2 separate regions of the Homo sapiens genome follow, and region 1 is linked to region 2. The links are contacts of gene promoters, found by promoter capture Hi-C in human tissues and cell types (Jung and others, 2019). All regions are on one chromosome and are shown on one strand. Each heading gives the region's core, a stretch centred on a gene start or on the middle of the fragment in contact. The rest is flanking DNA. Distances are from core to core; before and after follow the strand shown.

Region 1 (6,387 bases), core at 4-2,503, 530 kb after region 2:
GGCCTCCGGTGGCCCCATTATTATTTTCTGCCAGGTAAAGTTCAGTCACCTACACACAGGTCTCATCACTCACGATATGCTGCAGCTAGAATCAAACAAAGGCAAACTGTCAGTGAACACAGAAAACATTTCTCCATTACACAGTCAACGTTCCTTTGACTGATCCAGTCACTCAACTCAAAAGAGGTTTTGGTTTTATTTGGCTGGCAATTTTAGAAAATTCATCGCACAAACAACTGTATCATTTTCTTGGAGAATAATCAAGCTAAGATTTTCTACCATATCAGTGGTTCATTGTAAAACTTTCATATCTATTTAAAATAAAAACCATAGAGAACTCAGGTTAATGTACTCTTTATTTAAAATTCTAAGGATCTTTAAATAATTTTCCATGGGTCATATTTTTATTGCATTTTAAAATCATTTACAATTTGCTTTCACACATATTCTCCCTCATTTGATCCTTACAACTTCCCTGGGAAGCAGGTTGGAGAGAGAGTTGGGACCTGTTAGGAGACAAATTTACACAATACATAAGAAAGCTCACTGAGAGCTGGGGTGAGGAGGGGAGCCTTGGAGAATCATGAAAGCAATATCTATGTCTTTATTCCCAGCCCAACTACAAAGCCTGAAACTCATTAGGTATTTAAGAAATAGCTGCTGAATTATTGCCTAGGGGTGCTGAGCTGAAGAAGCAGGGTTGGGACTAACAGTCAAGCTTCCTGACTCCTAGCCCAATACTTTTCCAAACACAGCACCAATTTTTCTGTATCTGATAGAAAGTACAGTGCTTAAGTTGTACATAATGTTAACTCACTTTCAATACAGGCCAATCATGATTGACTATCAGTAGCTTTTGTGACAATCTTAGGAAACTAATGACTAGAAAGTTGAACCTTTCTAGTTCAACCATTCCCATGTCATATGCTATTTCTATTTTGAAAAAAAAAATCCTTTCAAATGAAACTATCCATCAAAATGACAGAGAAGTGAAAAATAGATAAAAGAAGAAAGCAAAAAGTTAATTTCAATATCAATTTGTCTATTTTACTTTAAAATTATCATAACCACCTAGCCATTCTATTTTTAGGAAGCTACGTTCTTTTTGAAGTGTTAGGAACTATGATAATTATTTATTCTTAAGTTGAAGTCCTAAATGACCAGCATGTGTATTAGTAGATAACCGGACACAGAGCAAGGTCAGAAGGGTGACTGAGTGTGGCAGAAAGGACAGTATCTCCAGCAACTGCAGATGGATAACGACAATGAGTCTAGATAATGGATCTGATACAACCATTCAAATAATGCTTATGAGTACTTGATAACCTAGGGAAAAGCTTCAGATACAGTGTTGTAGAGAAAAAAAGGGCAAGGTGGAAAAAAATATGGAAAACATGACTTCAATCATGCATACAGATGCTTCAATCATGCATACAGATGCTTCAATCATGCATACAGATCCTTCCACTTTATACTTTCTTTTTTTTTTTTTTGAGACAGGGTCTCGCTTTATCACCCAGGCTGGAGGGCAGTGGCATCACAATCTTGGTTCACTGTAGCCTCGACTTCCTGGGCTCAAGCAAGCCTCCCACCTCAGCCTCCTAAGTAGCCAGGACTACAGGCATGTGCCACCACACCTAGCTAATTTTTTGTATTTTTAGTAGAGATGGGGTTTTGCCATGTTGCTCAGTCTGGTCTCAAACTCCTGAGCTCAAGTAATCTGCCTTCCTTGGCCTCCTAAAGTGCTGGGATTACAGGCGTGAGCCACCGCCTCTACTTTATACTTTCTTGTTGAAGTAGACTGTATTACTGATTCCCCACCCACATCCTCTCTTTGGATATCCGGACCCTCCTCGAGTCTCTGGAAAGGGCAGCACTACAAATCCAGGGACAACTAGGGAACTCCCACCCCCACTGCTAGGCAGATCAGATTCTCTATCCTGCTCATTGGAAATGACACAGAGAGTGTTCGATAGATTTTTTGCAGAGGAGCATCTGTATGGAAAGGTCCAGTAACACTGGGACCAGGGGTACTGCCAGGGCAAGCCAAAGCCTCAGCGGCTGGAGGAGCCTGGAGCACGTGCCGAACGTCCATCTGCAGAGCAAAGCACAAGCATGGAGCAGAAGTCCAGAGTGAAGGCATGCAGGAGAGGAAAATCACCTCCCAGCACAGTCCTTCCATGGTGTGGTCACATGCTGAGTTCTGTATTTAGATGTCTGTGAGATTGCCTATTGTATTCTTAATACAGATCCCACTTAAGCCAGTCAGAAAAGGCTAAGATAAATGTAATTTTACTTGGCTGGAGTGCAGTGGCGCAATCATGGCTCACTGTAGCTTCAACTTCCTAGGTTCAGGTGATCCTGCCACTTCAGCCTCCCAAGTAGCTGGGACTACAGCCATGATCCACCACGCCCAGCTAATTTTTTGTATTTTTCTCATAAAAACATTATATTTTTCAGAAGAAATCTTATATATAATATATTGAAAATCACTGAATGCTTTGTCTTTTTTTCTGTGAATGTGTAGGTGTTTGAGTCTCTTGTATTTCTTCTTTTACACAGGATATGGGCTTTTCAAAAACTATTTCATTATCTTCATCATCATCATTCATTTCAGCCACTTCAGATTTTTGTCTCTCCAAAAATGTTGATGTACAAACCGGTGTGGGGCCCTGGGTATCCACAGTCTTCTCAGGAGTGTCAGGAATGCCTAAAACCTTTTTCTTCTTCTTACGTAAAACGTGGCCTTTTGTAGACATCAGATGATTCGTTTTTGAAATACTTTCCATTTTCTGTAAAATCAAAGAAGGAAAATCATAATCAATTCCTTTATAAGCTAATTTCTTCCTGAGTAATCTTTCTTTCTTTTTAAATCGTCCCTCTATTCGCAGCTTTTGTGTAAGTGCCGATTCTGATTATGCTGTTTCACTGACAGATATGATGGCTGCTTAAATGGAATATCCCAGTCTTTAAAGAGTTCTTTTTGAATTTTTCAGGTGGCATAAAATGACACTCTGAGAGTCTTTCACCAAACAGGTAGTTGTTCATCGTTTCAGCAACTATCTTGGCAATATCCTCAGACTCACACTCCACACATGCATAGCCTTTGCTATTTCCAGTCCTTTTCTTTCTGGATAGTCTGAACCTTGTAACAGTGCCACACTGGGAGAAATAGGAAAGGATCTGGGTTTTGTTCAGTAGGTTAGGTAGGTGGCACACATAGACTACTCCAGGAGTAAGCTGTTCTTGTTTTTTTCACTGGGTTATGTGCTTGCGAACCTGTGCCACTTTCTTCTGAAACTTGGCATCTTCCTTCAGGTTCAGTGACTGGATTGGCCCAGCCAGGTTGGAAAAGGCCACCATGCCAAAAGCGGGGACACCAACTCCAGGCAGCGCTCCCGGAAATGCCCATTTTTTTGTATTTTTAATACAAGCAGGGTTTCACCATGTTGCCCAGGCTGGTCTAGAACTCCTGGACTCAAGCGATCTGCCTGCCCTGACTCCCAAAGCACTGGGATTATAGGTGTGAGCCACCGCACCCAGCCTTGACTTTGAAATACATGTTGTACATCCAGTCAGCAGTGAACTCTGGCGGAACACCAAAGATGAGGACAATAAGAGAAGAGATACGTCCAATTAAAGGAGTTAAGAAGAGATGCTTGAACTTATGTTTTAAAAAGTCACTGCAGGTTGGGCACGGTGGCCCACGCCTGTAGTCACAGCATTTTGGGAGGCTGAAGTGGGTGAATGACTTGAGCCTAGAAGTTTGAGACCACCCTGGGCAACACGGCAATTCCCCATCTGTACAAAAAATACAATAAGTTAGCCGGGCACAGTGGCGCCTGTGGTCCCAGCTACTCGCAAGGCTGAGGTGGGGGGTTGAGGCTGCAGTGAGCTGAGAGCCACCACTCCACTACAGCCTGGGAGACATAGTGACACCCTGTCTAAAAAAAAAATTCACTGTTTTGGGGTTTTCTGGATGAAACCTCTGTTTCCTTTAAAAAAAAAAAAGGGTGTAGACAGTATGTATTACTGATTCAAAATCATAACCAGATGCTTAGAGTAAATAATTGTATCTATTGTTTCAAAAACCAACCTCAGGATTATTAAAAGTTAGTTTTATTGGATTTTTTTAAGCTGTGCTGATTCACTCAGGTCTGTCACTTCCAAGCCCATGTTTTAATACTTTGTAACCCTATTTGGAAGGAAAACTGCAGCTAAGATTATGATCCATCCTGAGATGTTATAAATGTTTCTATGAAAAGAACATTTCTAAACCCAAAGTAGTACAATCTTACATCTTTTGCAAATTTCTTTGATGTTTGGTATGTCATTTGCATCTGCATCCAATTTACTGTGTGATATTTGCTTGAGAAAATGTGAACAAAGCCCAGTCTTATACAGATAGGCATTTTAGATCATTGTGGATATTTCTTTTTCTTTTTTTTTTCTTTTTGAGATGGGGTCTTGCTCTGTCTCCCAGGCTGGAATGCAGTGCTATGATCATGGCTCACTGGACCCTCAGTCTCTGGGGACTCAGGTGATCCTGCCAACTCAGCCTCCAGAGTAGTTGGGACTACAGGTGTGTACTACCACACATAGGTAATTTTTTGTATTTTTTGTAGAGACAAGGTTTTGCCATGTTGCCTTGGCTTCTTATTTGATACTCCATCAAAACTTGATTTTTCTTGAACTTTGGATCTTTTACCTTTGCATGATATTATAACATCATGCATTGGTCATTTTGAAAATAATAGTTCACCGAGATCTTCTATATGTTGATACCTTTGATTATATGGTATCAAAATACACTCATCAATATCACCATCAGTCTCATCAGAATACTTTTGGAAAGCAATGGTGGATATAAGTTTTCTAAAATTCTAATTTTTTGTTTAAAAGCTTGAGTTTTATTATTAGCAATTTTATTGTTGAATTTTATTATGGCCTGTCTGTTGTTTTGCTTGAAATAACAGAATCTCCTTTTTTGAGAAAATGTCTCTCAAAACCCAAGCTGAAATAATATTTTTTTGTCAGTCATCCTTTGAAGTAAAAATGATATTACACTAAAGTGGCTAATTCACTTCATGACTTAGTCACACGAAGGTTTTTTCTAAGGCAGTCTGTAGGAATGCTCATGTATACTTCCCATTTCATCACTTGAAATATTAAAAAGACATATTCAAGGATTAAGATGTAGTAAAATTTTCACTGCTTCATCATAGACATTCTTTTTATTTTTGAGACAGGGCCTTGTTCTGTCACCCAGGCTGGAGTGCAGTAGCATGATCACAGCTCACTGTAGCCTCAACTTTCTGGGCTCAATCAATCCTCCTGCCTCAGCCTGCCAAGTAGCTGGGACTACAAGCATGCAACCACCATGTCCGGCTAAGTTTTATATTTTTAGTAGAGACGGGATTTCACCGTGTTGGCCAGGCTGCTCTCAAACTCTTGACCTCAGGTGATCTGCCCACCTTGGCCTTCCAAAGTGCTGGGATTACAGGCATGAGACACCATGCCCGGCCCTCCCTTCCTTTTTACACCTTTAAACCTTTCCCGTGCACAGTAGTCATACCATGACTACTAGTAGTTTGGTGTTACTGCCTTTATTTATGCTAAAGTACCAGCATTTTTACCCACCATTGCATCTGCACCCTTACAGCAAATGTCACCATGTTAGTATTCCTGTCAAAACAGTTTGGACCTGGGGGTCTGAGGGCCAGACTTTGTGAACCATTGAAATAGGTACTTAAACCTACTATATATCATATCTTTTCATCTACAAGATTTTTAAAAACTTGATTTCAGTTAATGTTTTTGTAATTTTTAAAATTTGGTTTTGAGGGGTTTCACTCCAGAGCAACAACATGTATTTTATTTTGCTTATGCTGAAGTTTAGTAGACAGATACTAACCTAATAGAATGAGGTCCTAAATCTAGTTGCAGTTTCTTTAGCCACAAACAAACAAACAAATAAAACACCCAAAACTAAAAATGTAAAAATGGTCCATATGGTGTATTCCCAATGTATGCTGAAGAATTTGGAGAAGAAAATGCAGTACTCAGTAAGTGGTATTCTTCAAGAATAGGATTGGGCCAGGCATGGTGGCTCACACCTGTAATCCCAGCACTTTGGGAGGCCAAGGCAGGCGGTTCACGAGATCAGGAGATCGAGACCACCCTGGCTAATATGGTGAAACCCCGTCTCTACTAAAAATACAAAAAATTAGCCGGGCGTGTTGACAGGCGCCTGTAGTCCCAGCTACTTCGGAGGCTGATGCAGGAGAATGGTGTGAACCCTGGAGGCATAGCTTGCAGTGAACCAAGATCGCACGACTGCATCCAGCCTGGGTGACAGAACAAGACTCCGTTTCAAAAAAAAAAAAA
Region 2 (6,679 bases), core at 2,103-4,602:
TGGCAAGACCCCGTCCCTACCAAAAAATACAAAAATTAACCAGGTGTGGTGGCACATGCCTGTGGTCCCAACTACTCGGGATGCTGAAGTGGGAGGATGGCTTGAGCCCAGGAGGCAGAGGTTGCAGTGAGCTGAGATCGCGCCACTGCACTCCAGCCTAGGTGACAGAGTGAGACCTCAAAAAAAAAAAAAAATTTTTTTAAGAAGTTTGGGGCCAGGAGTGATGGCTCATGCCAGTAATCCCAGCACTTTGGGAGGCCGAAGCAGGCGGATCACTTGAAGCCAAGCGTTCGAGACCAGCCTGGCCAACACAGTGAAACCTCATCTCTACAAAAAAATTTAACAATTAGCCAAGCATGGTGGCACATGCCTGTAGTCCCAGCTACTTGGGAGGCTGAGGCGGGAGGATCACTTGAGCCTGGGAGGTTTAGACTGTAGTGAGCCAGGGATCGCGCCACTGCACTCCAGCCTGGGTGACAGAGCAAGCCCTTGTCTCAAAACAAAAAGGAATTCAGGAGCAAACACTCAAATTCCTGCCCCCACATGGCCCTTCAAGGTCATCTGCCTGCATGCCTCACTCCTCCCTTGTCCTCTGATGACTAATACCATCCCCTGGACTCCTGATCTATCCTCACCTTCTATTCCTGGAAGCAGGAGCGTGTTCCCTGTGATATTCCCTCATTTTCACCCTCTCCCTCTTCAAGGGTTACTTTCCCATAGCTTCTAACTCTGCTCAAGCCTCTGTGTTTAGGAAACCTTCCCTCAGATCTGTGTTTCCGACTAGTTGCTGCTTTAGCTTCTTCCCTCCCTACATTTCGTGACTCTGCTTCCTCTTCATTTTTAGTCTTTGGGCCTGACCACCACCAGCAAAAATCCTGTAGCAGAGGTCACCAAGAGTTTCCCAATTGCCAGTCTTATGAATGAACTCAATTCCTCATCTGAATGATTTTTTTTTTTGAGATGCAGTCTTGCTGTTGCCCAGGCTGGAGTGCAGTGGCACGATCTCAGCTCACTACAACCTCCGCCTCCCGGGTTCAAGCAATTCTCCTGCCTCAGCCTCCTGAGTAGCTGGGATTACAGGTGTGCGCCACCATGCCTGGCTAATTTTTGTATTTTTAGTAGAGACGGGGTTTCACCATGTTGGTCAGGATGGTCCCGAACTCCTGACCTCATGATCCGCCCAACTCGGCCTCCCAAAGTGCTGGGATTACAGGCGTAAGCCACTGCACCTGGCCTTCAATTCTTCTCTCAATGATTTTATTGGAACTCTAGACAGCTACTAACTCTTTTTTTCTTGAGAAGTTCTCTTCTCTTGGCTTCAGAAACATTGACCTTTTCTGAGATTCCTCTTACCTCAGAGGCTGTTCTTTCTTAGTATTCTTTGGGGAGGGGGGGTGCATCTTCCTGTACTCATCCCTTAAATGTGTTCCCTGAGGTTCCGTCCTCACTATATTCTCCTCACTCCTTATATACCACACATTCACTAGGTGACTTTAATCACTCTACGCATTTCGACCGCCCTCTATATCCTTAATCGCTCCCTAAATCTATTTCTGATAAAGTATAACTGACCTCCTCCTCTGATAGCCCTCTGTAAACCACGAGACATTCTACAGCATTTATCTCTGTGCATATGTGCCTCCCTCTGTTAGACTAGAAGGGCAGGCCTAGCGCTTTCTCTCTTTCTAGTATCCAGGACAATACCTGGTAGATAACAGGAGCTCCACAAATGTTTAATAAATAAATAAAAGTTGACATACTCAGCATTTATATTTTAAGTTACCTTGTTTTCCTTTACAGAAAGTCTGAGAGGTAATTTCAGATGAAGAATTTCATTCTTTTTCAGGCTTTCATAGCCAGCAACAAAGACTCCTGGAAAAAGAAGCAGAGGTAGCTGTCACAAATTGTTAGAAAGATTGCAGACCATGCAATCCCCCGAAGTAAGGATACATTCCTTCACTGTGCAGCCTTGTATGGAGGAATTGAGTACCTGGTTGTGTCTTTTTCAGACAAGGTCTCGCTGTGTCAGCCAGGCTGGAGTGCAGTGGTCCGATCACAGCTCACTGCAGCCTCAACCTGCCAGGCTCAAGTGATCCTCCCACCACAGCCTTCAGAGTAGCTGGGATTATAGGCGTGAGCCACCATGCTCGGCTAATTTTTGTATTTTTTGTAGAGACAGGGTTTCCTTGCTTAGGTTAGTCTCAAATTCCTGGGATCAAGCAATCTGCCCGCTGCCTCAGCCTCCTGAAGTGCCCAGCCTGAAGACTTTTTTTGTTAGCCACGCTGGAATACAGTGTCGTGATCTCAGCTCACTGCAACCTCCACCTCCTGGGTTCAAGTGATTCTCCTGCCTCAGCCTCCCCAGTAGCTGCTGGTACACAGGTGTGCACCACCTCGTCCGGCTAATTTTTGTATTTTCAGTAGAGACGGGGTTTCACCATGTTGGCCAGACTGGTCTCGAACTCCTGACCTCAGGTGATCCGCCTGCCTCGGCCTCCCAAAGTGCTGGGATTACAGGCGTGAACCACTGCTCCCGGTCAGAGATCTTAATAAGAGGAATATTAGTGCTGATGGGGCATCAAATTGCTACAAGTGACTCTCAGGTGCCCAGAAGAGTGGGTTGGGTCCCTCTAGGCTTAGCTCCTGAAACCCAGCTCAGGAGTGAGATTCCCTCTCCTTCAGGGCTAGAAAGGTATACCACCTTTGTCATCAATCCATTCAAGGACTCGAGTGGCTCCTGACAGGTCGAATGCATAGAAATCCTGGTACCTGCACAAAAGGGACACAGAATCACACGATGCACAGCACTTCACAGCTCAAAGAACTCCAAGATGGCAGCCGCATGGTTCAGTGGCCCAAACTCTGGAGTCAGGCAGACGTGGGACTGAGTTTACTTCCCATTTTACTCCCTGTTTCTGGGACCAGGCCAGTCCCTTGATGTCCCTGAGCCTCGGTCCTCATGTGTGGACGTCCCAGGGTACCCAGATTTCCCAAGGTTGACGTGAGGAATCAATGAGATCATCTGTGTTCTGAGCTGAACTCAGAGGCTGGCGCAAACTAACTGGGCACTGCGTCTTCACAAGCGCGGCTCTTACTAGTAATCTCACAACGCGCGCACGCAGGAAGGAGCCATTTCCTAGAGATGGGGGCCTAGGCCCAGGCGGAGTCCTCCACGGTGGCGAGCCCCGAGGCCACAGCTGGCCCACTCTGCACCAGGATCCCCAACGTGCCTCCACCCACACCCATCCGCCCGCCAGGCAAGCTCCAGGCCCAGCTCCCATGTCCCAGCCCCGTACGATTTACAAGCGCAAGGATTCCACCAGCCAGTCGTCCCCAGGATCCATGGCAACGACCGCTTCCGGCGTCTCACTTCCGCCTGCGAGCCTTCGGGGGCCGCGCGGCTCTCGCGAGATGTGGGCAGGGCCTCCCGTTAGGGGCGGGGTTAACAGGCTGAGCTGCGGCCCGGCATGGGTGGGTTACGGGTTTTCTCCGCGAAAGCTCCGGGAAAAGTGACCTGAAATCGGGACTTTCCCGCTGTCAGCTCCAAGCAGGACCTGAGGACCAAATGATCGCCCGTTTTAGGGCCAGGTGTTTGCAGCCCAAGAGAGGGGCAATGAATGCTCCAAGGCCAGAAATAATACAGGACCGCCCGGTTAAATTCGAATTTCAGAAAAACGGTGAATAATTTCTTTCTTACGAGTATGTTCATGCAATATTTGGTACATTTTATTAGATAAAATTATTGTTTATCTGAAATTCGAATTTAACTGGGTGTCCAGTATTTTTATTTGCTAACGCTGGCAACCCTTCTGACGGCCAGAGAAGAGAGGAAGCGGCCGGCAGGGTCTGGATCCCAACTCGGCGCTCCCCTCCAAGTCCGGCGGGGGTATTGAGTAAAGCCCGGCAGTGTAGTGTCTGCAGCCCCCTTTTACTAGCGAGGAAACTAGTGACACTTGCCTGCGCCAGTAGGTGGCAGAGATGAGAGTAGAACCCCGCGCCTGGCACGAAGCCTGGCATGCAACAGGCGTTATTTGCTTGCTGAATGAATGGGTAGGAGGCCAGAGTCAGTGCCAGGCTGGTGCCATGGCATGGGGTATTCTGGACTTTTTGAGCCAGCCCCATCTCACTGAACACTCTGCCCTCCAGCCCCCTTTTCCTCCCATCCCCTAAAAGACGGGTGAAAGGAGAGGACCAGGCATTGTATGTAAAGAGCAAGGTTTTATTCACCAATTCAACAGGGAAGCAGGAAATACAGCAGGAACATAATCTGTGTCTGCATCAGCGATATTTCTGGTGACCCAGCCAGAAATCACAGTAATGGAGTAACAGAGATTTGAGCTCAGGATTTACATCCAGATGGGGCCATCAACAGGGTCCCATTCAGCACCTTCCCTGGGTGGGCACAATCTAAGCCACGCTGTTGTGTCTGCCCCATTATTGGTGTCATTTCTGCAGTATTTGTACCAGCAGCCTCCTGTACTGAAGAGAAACATACAGAAGAATTGAGCCAGGGAGGGGCTCCTGATAAAGATAGGGGCATCCTGCCATTCCTAAGTGCCAGATGTCTGCAGAGGTGGGCACCAGCAGGCTGTCAGCTGAGGCAGGCCCCAGAGCACCCTGAATTGCCTTGGAGGGGTCGGGGCAGTAGTTTTCTCAGAACACAGCCCCAACCACCCAGGGTGGTCATGACAGTCAAAGAAGATCGTGGAAGAAAATCCAAATACAGTGCTTGGTGCTGGGCTAGTGTCAGCGTCCTCACTCCCCCACCCCAGCTCTGCCCCAGACCTCACTCTGAAGCCCCAGACGTAGGCACTGCTGCTTCTGAGATTCTCTAGTTGGTCTGCATGTGTCAGAGCTTCAAAACCAAGGGCATTAGAGGTGACATTGTTTCCCTTCAGACTCAGCCAGCCCAAGCTCCTAGGCCTTACATCTGAGGTCCTCAGGGGCTGCTGGTTCTGTGCCTCAGGAAGTCAGGGATGTTGGTTGAGGCTGGGTTGGACCTTTTCTAGGGAATGCCTCTCCCTTCAAAATGCACACACTATATGCTAGGCACACTGGGGGATATGAAGGCGAGTCTACAACAGGTGCCGCCAGGGAGCTCACAGACTGATAAGAGCTCGCATCTACTAAGGGCTGTCTATGAGCCAGGCACCATGCTGAGCATTTGACATAAATGGTCTCATTTAATGGGAGATGGGCCTTATTATCTTCATTTTATGGGTGAAGAATATTGAGGCTTTAGAGAAGTTAAGGGACATTTCTAAGGTCATACAGCTACTAAGTAGCTAGGTTATGAGCCCAGCACGTTGTAGTCAAAACCCACATTCTACCACATCACACTGCCTTCTGCACACAGCAGCAGGACCAGGGAGGGTGGTGTGCAGTAAGGACAGCACCAGGAGCAGGGAATGAAGGAGTTGCCACTCAGCGGGGCTATACCTTGAGGCTAGCTTGGCTCCAGCTTTGGAGTCTTGAATCCCATAGATCAGTGACTGACAACCAATAATGATTTGGGGCCCTCTCCCCCAGCAGACATCTGGTGATGTCTGGAGGTCTTTTCAGTTGTCACAACTTGATGGGGGGGAAAGATGCTACTGGCATCTAGTATGTAGAGACCAGGGATGCTGCCAAACATCCCATGATGCACACGTCAGCCCTCACAAGAAACAGTGATTCAGCCTAGAACGTCAAATGTACTGAAGTTGCTAAACCCTACCACTGGATACTGAGGCAGATGAGAGAATGGGAAGAGCTCCAGTCCAGGTGAACAAGGTCCAGACTCTGTCTTGGCTGCTGACTTCTCTTTCCCTCTCTGGGCCTCAGGGTCCCATTCCGGCCACAAGCATACACAGGACACAGCAAAGGTGGACTTGACTAATGCAGCAGGGAACAGCATGGGTGGGACAAGACTGTGTAGACTGGGGGAGAAAGGTCCTGCTCCAAAAGGCTGATGATCCCAGTCTGTTACTTTAGACTGGGTGATGAGTCAGGGGAACTTCTTTCCCTACTTCTTGCCCCATGGGGTCTACTGGGAAGGTCAGCTTCCTTTCTTTGGACTGTTCCTCCTTTGAGCTCTGCCTCAAGAGGGAAAAGCCTGGAAACCTGGCTTTCTGGGGTCCACACCCATAATGTCCTAGTCAGACAGTCACACCCTAATACAGTACTGGGTGGTAATTCCTCCCATGCAGGATCCGGGGATGGCCCCAGCTGGGCCCTCCTGACATTGGAGCAGGGGCCCGGCTCACCTGGATTTGGGGTGCGGGGCGGCTGAGGCTCACGCCCAGAGCCTTCTTTAGCAGGAGGATTCCGAGCAGATCATGACTCAGCTGCAGTCGCTGGTCCCTCAGGGAGGTGTGGGGAGCTGTCCCCAATGGGGATGGGCTGGAAGGCTCCAGACTCTTCTTGCCCATGAAGTGACCTGGAAAGGAGGTGTCCAGGCACAAGGAAGTCAAGCAGCCAGGATCCTACCTCAGAGGAAAAGTTCCTCATCTCTCCCACGTTTCCGTTCTTGTAGCGGGAAGACACTTAACCTTCCTCCTCTTGGTGCTTCCACCTCACCAAGGAGCCACAAAGGTGTCTGGGTGGTGGCAAAGCCTGCTCCCTCAGCTTTTCCTGAACAGGTAGAGAGGATGGCACAGCTGGCAGGAAGGTGGGATGGTCCAGGGCCAGGGAGAAACTC

Evidence for each region. Contacts are between HindIII fragments. The study calls those that stand out against the background at their distance.
Region 1: a fragment that was not itself captured here is called in contact with the fragment with the promoter of WDR73 in region 2 in 2 of the 25 tissues and cell types used here (IMR-90 fibroblasts and bladder).

What each region holds. Positions count from the first base shown.
Region 1 is chr15:85,178,721-85,185,107 of GRCh38, forward strand. It overlaps the pseudogene NIFKP8. Among named protein-coding and RNA genes, the nearest start is that of MIR7706, 200 kb to the right of the region's middle. The HindIII fragment of the contact is 3,731 bases long and covers 1-3,119 here.
Region 2 is chr15:84,650,931-84,657,609 of GRCh38, forward strand. WDR73 (WD repeat domain 73) reads right to left here and starts at 3,353. Exons shown (of 8, transcript NM_032856.5): 1 at 3,304-3,353; 2 at 2,702-2,769; 3 at 1,784-1,872. The coding sequence starts at 3,344. NMB (neuromedin B) reads right to left here. Exons shown (of 3, transcript NM_021077.4): 2 at 6,246-6,418; 3 at 4,202-4,479. The coding sequence ends at 4,444. RefSeq lists enhancers at 2,706-3,673, 3,100-3,339. The HindIII fragment of the contact is 11,541 bases long and covers 1-6,679 here.